Linked DNA regions of Homo sapiens: all the other regions are linked to region 1. Evidence: promoter capture Hi-C in human tissues and cell types (Jung and others, 2019). All regions are on one chromosome and are shown on one strand. The core of a region is centred on a gene start or on the middle of the fragment in contact, and the rest is flanking DNA. Distances in the headings are between cores, read along the strand shown. Region 1 holds the start of CAPZA3 (capping actin protein of muscle Z-line subunit alpha 3). Region 2 overlaps PIK3C2G (phosphatidylinositol-4-phosphate 3-kinase catalytic subunit type 2 gamma). Region 3 overlaps PIK3C2G (phosphatidylinositol-4-phosphate 3-kinase catalytic subunit type 2 gamma). Region 4 has its middle 150 kb from the start of CAPZA3.

Region 1 (2,700 bases), core at 123-2,622:
ACACACACGTACACACCCACACACAGCCTTAACCCTGGCCACCTCTATACTATTTCTGGAATCCCAGATTCTATAAAACTATTTTAGTTTCTAACAAATGTCTTGGTCTTTATGATGGTCACCACCATGAAACACAGTTACTTTACACTTTCTTGCCTTGTTCATAAATATTCCCCAAGTAAAATTACTTGCTACACTTTTCCCATTTAAATTTGCATTGGCTAAGTGAGAGACATCTCTACAGATTGCTCAATTTTAGGAAAATAACCATTCCCAAGAAACACAAACAAGTCAAATCAAGATAGTTACCAGGAGCAATTCTTTATATTATCCAGTTGCACAACACACTTCTTGAATAAATGACATATCCTAATTTAGGATACATCACCAGATTCAAGTCAGAGAGTATCCTGTGCCAGTCAATAAGAGTGCGGGTCACTGGAAGATCCCTTCGTAGAATTTTTCTCAGGGCTTCATTGGATAACTCCTGTAATTCTTCCAAGACTGCAGCTTGAAATTTGTTCTCTTGCTCTTCCACAAGCCTTGCAAAACTTAGAGCCAGTTGAGCTTGGTTAACTATTTCCAAGCTTTCTTTCAGGTCCTTGGATATTTCAATATGAAGGTTGACACACCTGAAGAAGTGAGCTTGCACAAATATTCTTCCCGTTACTTGGGTTAGAAATGGGTTAACTTGGAAAATCCATTTAGATTTCCAAAGTCCGTTCCAGCACTCTCCTGTTTCATAGTTGTGATCTTCAATGCAAGCTATCAAGTACTCCTTACTTTTGACAGTTTTTCTCAGCATGTTGCAATTTCCTTTTGGATAGTGGTCATTCACATACAGTTTTAAGGCGCACAGAAGAACAACTCTCAGGTATTCTGCCTCATTCTGAATGATACCATGACTTTGGATGTCTTTCAGCTGATTTTGAAGCAGGTCATATTTGAAAGAAAGTTTGCTTTGATGGTCAAAAAATCGGTAGTCGCCCATTACATTGTGGTGAGACAAGAGTACTGGATTTCCATCGATGCAGAGTGGTACAGAATATTTTTGGCAGTGTTGGTGGCCTGCACACTCACCTTGGTGGTGCATAAGTTTTTCATCACGGATAAGCAGACAGAGATCATCAAAGGCATTTACAAATTCCCCTGGAGGGGCCTGTAATAACAGTCTGCGAATTACTCTTTCCTTGTCCTTCCTGCTCAGCACGCTAAGTGTCATGTTTGGTTGCAACAGAAGCAAAGCTTCTGAAATGAGGAGTGTTCAAAGGATAAGAAAACATTCCATGAGCCACCTTTCCCATCAAGGTGTTAACATTCAAGCTGAAGGTTTTTATGTCTATCCATGAAAGCAGGCAGTCTGGCAAGGTCTGAGCCTCCTGATGAGGTCATAAGAAGCTTTCCTTGTGAAGTGTGGAACCTCTGATGATATCACAATGGGAATTCAGACCAAAAGGAAAAAATGACAGTCACCTGACAGTGTGGTGCCCAGCCAACCAGCTATACCTCTTTTGAAGATTTTAAGAACTTAGCCTCCTGAACAGTCTTCTTCGAAAGTGGTGTGTCTCTGTGTGCATTATATGTTGTCAACGATCTAGAGAAGCAGCCCAAAGTTTCAAGAGTGACAGCACTTTGCAACTTCAGGAATCACAATGGTGTTGATTTATACTCAGGCTCTCAGAGTAGCTGCCCAAACCCACTGGAAGCATATTATGATGAAAGGTTTGAGGGGTTTAAACAAAGTAGTAAAAAATAAAAGGAGATACAATGGCAGTTCATGGAAAAATGCCAGACATCAGGGAAAGCTGTGTTTTCAAATATTGTGGGTTTGGAGGTGGTCAGAACGTAAGAAGCCAAACAGTTTCAAGGGCAGGGTAGTGCAGGTACCACATCTTGCATACTGTTTCTATGGTTAAGTGTGAGCTAGCTTCAAAGAACGAAGGCAAAAAAAACCACTGTGTGTTCTCTGCTTTCTCCCTAGAAAAGTGGTAACAGCTGATGAGTATCAAGAAATTATTTTCTGCAAAGGGGCAGAGTTAATTGTATTTGGAACCCATGACAGCACCTACTGGGGAAAGACTTCTAAGTGAGGAGAAACGGCTCTACAGGTCATGAAACTATGGAAATGAGATATCCATTGAGAGCTTCTTTCTGCTCCTCTTCTTCTTTCTCCTACTTATCCTCTTTACTTGATGCTGTTATTCTTTTCGAGGAGTTCTGAATTTAAGTCCTCTTCATTTAAGTTGAACTGCTTTTCCCTGTTTGTTCTGAGCTTTTCTAACTTTCCCTGCATTCTGGTATCTTTTTCTTACAAGAACATGAGCTTTGCTGGATTAAGTCATAACTATTAAATTTAAGGAGATCTCATTAATTCGTTCTAACAATCTGAAACTTAGTAGTTTTGCACAATTTTTACCTATACCTTTTATAATTTTAGTGATAATTGTCATTATCTCATTTCGATCTTAGTTTTTCAAATGGAAGTGTCCTAGTTTTTGTAGTTTATCTATGATAAGTAAGCTTTTAAAAATTTTTTTCGTTTTTCATACCAAATATACACTCACCATGGTATTTCTGATGCTTTTTGATGGTACTGTCTTGAGTGTGTGTGTAGCTGGGCATTGGACTAATGTAGTAATAATAACTTTATCAGTCATGGTTACTATTTATTGAACACTAAGTAGCAGAAACTGTGTTCGG
Region 2 (2,700 bases), core at 131-2,630, 180 kb after region 1:
AAGACATGAGGATAATAGCAGGAGTATAATATTAATCATGATTTATGGAGACTCTACCATTCATTCATTGAACATCGATCCAACAAACATTTACTGAACACATTTTATTTGCTGGAGTGAAAAGCTTTAGGGTGACAGCATGCACTCACTTCTCATGAAGATATCAGTTTTAAGTTTTGTGAATCATAAATGTTAAGTTTTGATGAACTCACCCTCACAAAAATCTCAACTATGCCCATACCTTATTCTTACATTGCCCAACAGTTAGGATGTAAGAAGTCTGAAGATGAAGGGTGAGACTTTATGGTCAGCCCATGGTTTGGGGGCAGACTTTCACTCAAATCCATCTCCTATCTCTCAGGTGTCAGACTTAACGGGTCAGACAAAACAGTGCTGTTAACTGTAATTGGACTTGGGACTGGGGCTCTGAGTGTAGTCGGTTTCAGGCCTCTGTGAGGATCTAATTTATCCAAGTAATAGCTCCCTGATTTATTTTGTTTAATGGCAGCATTAGCAGGATTATGCTTTGGATTATCCTTATATTACAGGAATAAAGCAGCAGCTGGGAGGATTTTAGCTCTTAAGTTTCCTAAGGGAAGTCTCCAAGCAGTCTTGATAAACACTTTTAACTCTCCCTTGCTAGGCACTATTCTATGTGCTGGGAGGTAAAGAAGAGAAACCAAATTTCTGCCCTGAGGAAGTATATATCCCTTGGCAGGTAGTACACTAAATGCTTCATGTTAATCTTTTCATCCTTAGAGAAGAGCAGTCCAATTATTTCAGCAATAGATAAGAAAATGACCAGGAGAAGTTAAATGCATACCAAAGGTGACATCAACTAAGAAGTAGTAACTGAAGAATTCTACTCATGTTTATCTGATTCCTTAGTCTTTGCTCTCACTGTGGATTTTAAAAAGCAAACAATAATTCAATTTTGTCTTTCAGAGAAAAATAAGCCAATAACTTGTGGAATTCTCAGGTGGATCAAAGGTACTAAGACAATGAACCTTTGATTTTTACATAGAAATAACCCTTAGGTAAAAAAAATGTAACATATTTCTAGCTGCCAAGGAACATAGTCTAAAGGGACCTATAATAAGCATAAAATTTCTTAAGCCTTAGGTCCTATCTTAAAAAATGTGTATACATTGTATTCTACTTCATAATACATGCACTTTTTATACAAACTAAATATTTTAATTGCTTATCATCAGAAACAATTGCTTCTAACAGGTTTCTTAGCACTGTGTGTGTGAATGGGCAATTGAGTCTATCAGTCTCAGAAAACTGAGTTGAATCCAGAGCTCTGATCTTCTGTGTCAGGTTCAGCATCTAGGCAGATTATTTTTTCTCAAATTAAATATAAATTCACATTTATGTTGATATGTGACTACAAATGGCAAACATTTTTCGCTGCTTTATGAGCTACATCAGACTAAGCATTGAGGAGAGATGACTACGATGCCATTGGCAGTTGAACCAAGGTTCTTAGGCAACACCTGATGGAGATTTCTATGACAGCGTATTTCAATTTACAGTTTAAATTGTTCATATATTTGGCAGTTGGATAGAATAACTGTTTCAATGGTCAGTCTCTTTAATAGTCACAGGAAAATATTTCTCATAAGGCTTCTGTGAAGGAATTTGCATGAGAACATTCTTTATTTTACCACTGATACTGTAAGTTCATAATATATAAATACAGGAAGAGTTGCAATTGACTGACTCCCCATGAACAAATTTCTTCATCTAAATCTCAAACTTCATTTCATTGCAGTATTCTGGCATGTGCAAGAAACACATTACTTTGTTTTTTGTATTGAAGTTACTGACTGAGTGTCCAGCTTTACAAGTCACTCTTAATCATTCAAGGGGAACAATGAATTAATAAAACTTTGTCATAGTTTCTTTTATCGCATAAAGAAAATCAGTAGTTCGGCATTGAATTTGTAATCTCTGAAATATATGACCAGTGCTTTCTTTTACTTAAGCTTATGAGTATGCTTTCGGATAATTCCTATTTTACTACAAATTCATACTGCACTAAGTATTCAAACACATATTTTTTAAGCAAAAAAATTTACTATTCCTAAATGAGCTCAGTGACAATCATTGCTAATGTATTCTGGGTACATGATAAAACAATTCATTTCTATGCACTTTTATTCTTAAAAATTCAAAATTGCACACATGGAAAAAGCACATGATGATTTTGGTTGCACATGTATGTAATGTGTAGGTACACATTTGACTCCAAACTTTACAGTTTATATTCTAATCCTTTAAACAAAATAAGATACTAAAAAGGATATGTCACATGAATCCTTGGGGCTTTGATAGCGTGGTATGCCAATTTGAGAAACACAGCTATAAGCATGTAGATGTTTTTCTTATGATGGTCTTTCAACTAATCTGAAGACACTAAAGTTAAAGAACATTTATATTTATCTGACAGTCAGGACATTAAGAGTTCCATATGCAGAACTTTTTTCCACATGATTTGGCATAGTTGTGTCCTGGGAAGAGCGCTCATTATGCAAGAAATAAACCTTGTTCTAATCTGTACTCACTAGGTCTACCCATGATCTCAAGAAAGTAATTGTTGAACAATTTTAGGATATTCAACTGTTGCATCTATAAAATGCAGTTGGTGACTCATGCCAGTGATCTCAAGAAAGTCATTGTTGAATGACTTCAGGA
Region 3 (2,700 bases), core at 198-2,697, 130 kb after region 1:
GTAACCTTAATTTTTCTTTTGATTTGTATCGCAACATCGTTAAAATGAGAAATTTAGTTTTTTTAATTAAAAATTTATTGTTTACTTCCCAAGGATTAAACATAATTTATAGTTTTACTAATATTTCCCTTATAATCTTTGGTTGTATGTTATCTGGGGTAATTTAGAGATCAATTTATTAATAACAAAGAATTTGTCAATGGTCATCAGAAAGTCAATCTTAACTTTCTAATCTTCTCTAAGATTTGAAAATTATACCTGAGCAGTGTAGTTACACCTGATCAGTATAATTTTCAAATATATAACTTTTCAAAGCCTTCTACATGTTTATTTGAATAATTTATACATTGTATGAGGTGATATTAATTTTATTGTTAATAATATGGATTTGTGACATTGAAAAGGATGTTTTTTACAATTGCAATGGTAATATAAGAAAAAATCACTTATAATATCTTGATTACACTAACTGGGAGAGACTATATAGACTAACACAGAGATACTATGAGATAGTTCTTAGTAAGACTGAAGTAAATTGCATTTCATAATAAAAAGATGTTTGGTATAAAGGTGCTAAAAATGCTGATGACGTTTTGAGGCACAACGAACATTATATTTGAATTAAAGAGTGGAAGAATTGTTAAGTAGACAGCCAATGTATTTAATCAGAGAAGTTTTAATTCAAAGGTAGAAAATTAGCATAAATTTGTGATTGACTGCCTAAATAGTAAAAGTACAATTGCCACTTGAACTGACTGAAGATGATAGTTCTCCCTCCACCTCTTGCTCAAGATTAGTAACTAAAGTGTCCATCAAAACATGCCGGAGTTCAGAACCCAGTGAAAACTCACACCACTAGGAATTGACACTCAGTAGTCAATGTAGCAGTAGGAGTAGAGAGGCTTATTATTTCTGTAGCTTTGACTGTATGCCAGGCTAAGAGCTTTATGTACAGTAACGCATTCAATCATCATAGCAAATCTATGAAATTTGTATTATCTCCATTTTACACATGAGGAAACTCAGGCACTTGGTCCAAGGTCATAGAGACAATAAACGGTGCAGGTTTAAGTGATCTCCAAAGCCTGTGTTTATAAGCGCCTGGTTTATAAGCACCATGCTGTAGAGAGTCAAGAAAGGCGGCTACAACATAAGAAAAACAGGTTAAATGAACTCAAGAGGGACATTTGTGAATAGCTTAATATGTTCAAGAAGACGCTAAGATATTTTGGTCTTCTGCTTCAAGTTAGTCTGAGGGATTCAACTATGCTTAGATTAACCATTTATAGTCACCCCAAGAGCTGTTAAAATATTTTTAATTTTAAGGATGACTGTGTTCATCAAGGATATAGGTCTGTAGTTATCTTTTTTGGTTGTGTCCTGTCCTAGTTTTGGTATTAGCATAATGCTGGCTTCATATAATGAATTAGGGAGAGGTCCTTCTTTCTCTATCTTGTGGAATAGTGTCAAAAGGATTGGTACCAATTCTTCTTTGAACGTCTGATAGAATTCTGCTGTGAATCCATCTGATCCTGGATTTTTGGTCAGTAATTTATTAACTACCATTTTAATCTCACTGCTTATTATTGGTCTGTTCAGGGTATCTAATTATTCCTGATTTAAGCTACAAGGGTTGTATTTTTCCAGGAATTCATCCATGTCTTCTAGGTTTTCTAGATTATGTGTGTAAAGGTGTTCATAGTACCCTTGAATGATCTTTTGTGTTTCAGTGGTATCTGTTGTAATATCTCCCGTTTCATTTCTCCATGAAGTTATTTGGATTTTCTTTCTTTTCTTGGTTAATCTTGCTAATGGTCTATCAATTTTATTTGTATTTCCAAAGAACCAGCTTTTTGTTTCATTCATCTTTTGTAATTTTTTTGTTTCAATTTCATTTAGTTCTGCTCTGATCTTGGTTATTTCCTGTCTTCTGCTGAGTGTGGGTTTGGCTTGTTCTTGTTTCTCTAGTTCCTTGAGGTGTGACCTTAGATTGTGTGTGTGCTCTTTCAGACTTTTTGATGTAGGCAGGCTGGGAACTTTCCTCTTAGCACAGCCTTAGCTGTATCCCAGAGGTTTTGATAGGTTGTGTCATTACTGTCATTCAGTTCAAAGAATTTTTTTAATTTCCATCTTGGTTTCATTTTTGACCCAACACTCATTCAGGAGCAGGTTATTTAATTTCCATGTATTTGTGTGGTTTTGAAGGTTCCTTTTGGAGTTGATTTTCAGTTTTAATCCATTGTAGTCTGAGAGAGTGTTTGATATAATTTCAATTTTCTTAACTTTATTGAGGCTCATTTTATGGCCTGTCATATGGTCTATCTTGGAGAAAGTTCCAGGCACTGTTGAGTGGAATGTGTATTCTGTGGTTGCTGGATGAAATGTTCTAGATATATCTGTTAAGTCCATTTGCTCCAAGGTATAGTTTAAATTCATTGTTTCTCAGTTGACTTTCTGTCTTGATGACCTGTCTAGTGCTGTCAGCAGAGTATTGAAGTCCCCTACTATTATTGTGTTGCTGTCTATCTCATTTTTTAGGTCTTTTAGTAATTGTTTTATAACTTTGGGAGCCCCAGTGTTAGGTGCATATATGTTTAGGTTTGTGATAGTTTCCTGTTGGACAAGGCTTTTTACCATTATATACTGTCCCTCTTTGTCTCTTTTAACTGTGGTTGCTTTAAAGTTTGTTTTGTCTGATAT
Region 4 (2,700 bases), core at 165-2,664, 150 kb before region 1:
TTTGTAGAGGTTTTACTTTTTATTATTTGCCATTATATCTAGAAGCAAAGTTGCCAATTATGATCCTTGAGGGTTATTTATATCATTTGAAATATTTTAAAGCCTTCTGAATCAGTTGTTTAGCTCAGGCTAGAACATATGCTCTAGTTAGAATTAGGGGCATAGTAATCATTCCCTCAAATTTTTAGTGAAGTTTAAGTGTTAGAGAAACATTCCAGATTGACTGATGATGTTATCTTAGAAGACATCATAAACACTGATAAGTACACAGAAAACCTGTCTACTTCGACCACACTCAGAAATAATAGGCAACAACTATAAAACTCTAAACCCATAGAAGGAAAGCATATCAGGAAAATATACTCAGCAAACAACAGAGATTGAAAATAGTACATTATATAAAAATTGTGCTATAGTGTAGCATAATTGCATATACATTGGTAATAGTGTAGACTGTAGATTACAGCAGCATCATGCAAATGAAGGGAAATGCTGTGTACAGCTAGAAATAAAGCCTTGGTTATGAAGAGTACACAGACTGTATAATACATTGGCAATGGGCAACAGAGATTCTTCTCGATTTCATAATTTTATGAAATGATGAATGACTACATGTGTGATATTGAATATTGAACATTTATGTTTGGAGACATATACACTGAAGGTGGTTTAGAAAAAAATAACAAATACTAATACTGCCAGGAAAGTTAGGCATCAAGATGTAAGTACAAATTCACTTCGGTTCATATATACATGTTTACAGCATTTTGCCATTTAAGTGAATGTCATGGAGTTCAACCTCAGAGTATAAGACAAGGTGACTCAAAATCCAGACCATGCTGATACTATAAAATGTGTCTACACAATCGTATTTGTTGAATACCCCTGTCTTTGTTTGTGCTGCTATAACACAGTACCTGAGACTGGGTAATTTACAAAGAACAGAAAATTATTTCTGACAGTCCTGGAGGCTGGAAGCTCTAGAACAAGGCACAGGCATTTGGTGTCTGGTCAGGGTTGCATCCTCCAGCAGGGAAGAATGCTGTATTTTCACATGGAAAAAGCTGGGAGGGTGAGAAAGGAAGAACTCCTTTTGCCAAGTCCTCTTACAAGGGCGTTCAATCTCGCCCACAAGCGATGAGCCCACATAGCCCAGTCGCCTGTCAAAAATCCTGCCTCCCAACATTACCGCATTGGCAACACCTGAAATTTAAAGGGGGATACATTCAAATCACCTCATTCTGCCTGACCCCTCCCCCGCAAATTCATGTTTTCTCAGAAATTCACTCACTCTCTCATTCAACACACATTTATGAATTAGTTTAGTCAACAAACATGAATGAATGAATGAAGACAGTGGACTATAGATTGCAGCAGAGCCATGCAGATGAAGGCAAATGCTGTGTATAGCTAGAAATAAAGCTTTGGTTATGAAGAATACAGATCTTTTCAAAAATTATTCAAAAATTGTACATGGGAATTTTTTAAAGCATCTGGATAAATTAATATAAAACATAATACAGAGGGCAATTGTGTATAGGGAAATGGGAAGGATGTTTTGACAAGCTTTAATTATATCCCAGCCCAAAGACAAAGGTCTTATCTAGAAGCAGGTTACAAGAAGAGCAGAGGCAGAGAGCAGGGGATTATTATTCAACCCTACTGTGATTCACCCTTCATTTGGATTCAGATTGGCTTGGCCTCTACTCTTAGCCCAGCTGTGTCTCCACCCACCGGGGAAAGAGTGGAGTCAAGGCAATTATCCTGCTAATTTATCTAAAAATGGCAAAATTGAAGAAATAGTTTTCTCAGCTCTCTCTGAATTATCCAGGCAGGGGGTCCAGCATGATTACGCTTCTGAGGGAATCTTTTCCTCCCTTTCATTTTGCAACTGTGTACACAGGCTCTTTCTCCCATCTCTGCAGAGGAAGTTTGCCTTCTGTTAAATATTTTGAATCCTGTGTCTTTATAATTTGGCCATGAGGTGACTATATGTATCTGAGAAGTTCCACGTCTAAGACACACACACACACACACACACACACACTCACAAAATGGAGATCCATTCCTATAATAATTCTCTATATTTCCCAAGTGCCAGTTCAAGAGCAAAGGCTTGTAACTGCGTGGACCAAGATTTGCTGGAGGTTTACTTTAAAGGCTTACTCTAAGCTTGTTTTTCTAAGCAGATTCTATGCTCTTTGATGGGAAGGACCATGCCATTTATTTCTAATAGCAGCCTCCGTAATACTTAAAATGGTGCTAGTCACATAGCTGTTTTTCAAGAAAGTACTTTTGAAATTAAAATCTCAGTGTAGTGTTTATTTAATGTGGTGTTAAATCTTCTAAGCAGAGTGTTGCCGAGTTCCTGGCATGTGTGACACTGACGTAGGGATGGAGACATGCTTTTTTTTTTCTTTTTTCTTTTTCTATAGCCTCATACTAGAGGTGAGGTGACATGGTTTATAGGGGCTACCTGGCATATCTTAATCTGTTCATGCTGTGGTGAGGACAGCGGAGGCAGAGCCCAGCTAAGACATGGGAGCTCTGTGGATGGCTATAAGAATTCAGTAATTCTTCAAACTGCCATTCTTTGAATATTCCTTCAATATTTATTTTAAGAAACTACTGAATAAAGTATGAAAGAAGGATAAAGAAAGAGAACCAGTTGTGGTAGTTCTCAGGTTTTCTATAATAATC

What was found. Contacts are between HindIII fragments. The study calls those that stand out against the background at their distance.
Region 2: a fragment that was not itself captured here is called in contact with the fragment with the promoter of CAPZA3 in region 1 in 2 of the 25 tissues and cell types used here (dorsolateral prefrontal cortex and mesenchymal stem cells).
Region 3: a contact is called between a fragment that was not itself captured here and the fragment with the promoter of CAPZA3 in region 1, in 5 of the 25 tissues and cell types used here (bladder, dorsolateral prefrontal cortex, lymphoblastoid cells and 2 more).
Region 4: a fragment that was not itself captured here is called in contact with the fragment with the promoter of CAPZA3 in region 1 in 7 of the 25 tissues and cell types used here (adrenal gland, bladder, dorsolateral prefrontal cortex and 4 more).

Annotation. Positions count from the first base shown.
Region 1 is chr12:18,736,791-18,739,490 of GRCh38, reverse strand. CAPZA3 (capping actin protein of muscle Z-line subunit alpha 3) reads right to left here and starts at 1,372. Exons shown (of 1, transcript NM_033328.3): 1 at 303-1,372. The coding sequence starts at 1,222. The coding sequence ends at 323. PLCZ1 (phospholipase C zeta 1) reads left to right here and starts at 1,479. Exons shown (of 15, transcript NM_033123.4): 1 at 1,479-1,559; 2 at 1,982-2,130. The coding sequence starts at 2,120. The HindIII fragment of the contact is 1,043 bases long and covers 917-1,959 here.
Region 2 is chr12:18,554,021-18,556,720 of GRCh38, reverse strand. All of the region lies in intron 26 of PIK3C2G (phosphatidylinositol-4-phosphate 3-kinase catalytic subunit type 2 gamma), which reads right to left. Among named protein-coding and RNA genes, the nearest start is that of PLCZ1, 180 kb to the left of the region's middle. The HindIII fragment of the contact is 3,052 bases long and covers 1-2,700 here.
Region 3 is chr12:18,604,249-18,606,948 of GRCh38, reverse strand. The region is part of intron 30 of PIK3C2G (phosphatidylinositol-4-phosphate 3-kinase catalytic subunit type 2 gamma); the gene reads right to left. Among named protein-coding and RNA genes, the nearest start is that of PLCZ1, 130 kb to the left of the region's middle. The HindIII fragment of the contact is 5,439 bases long and covers 1-2,700 here.
Region 4 is chr12:18,887,261-18,889,960 of GRCh38, reverse strand. No RefSeq gene overlaps it. Among named protein-coding and RNA genes, the nearest start is that of CAPZA3, 150 kb to the right of the region's middle. The HindIII fragment of the contact is 5,934 bases long and covers 1-2,700 here.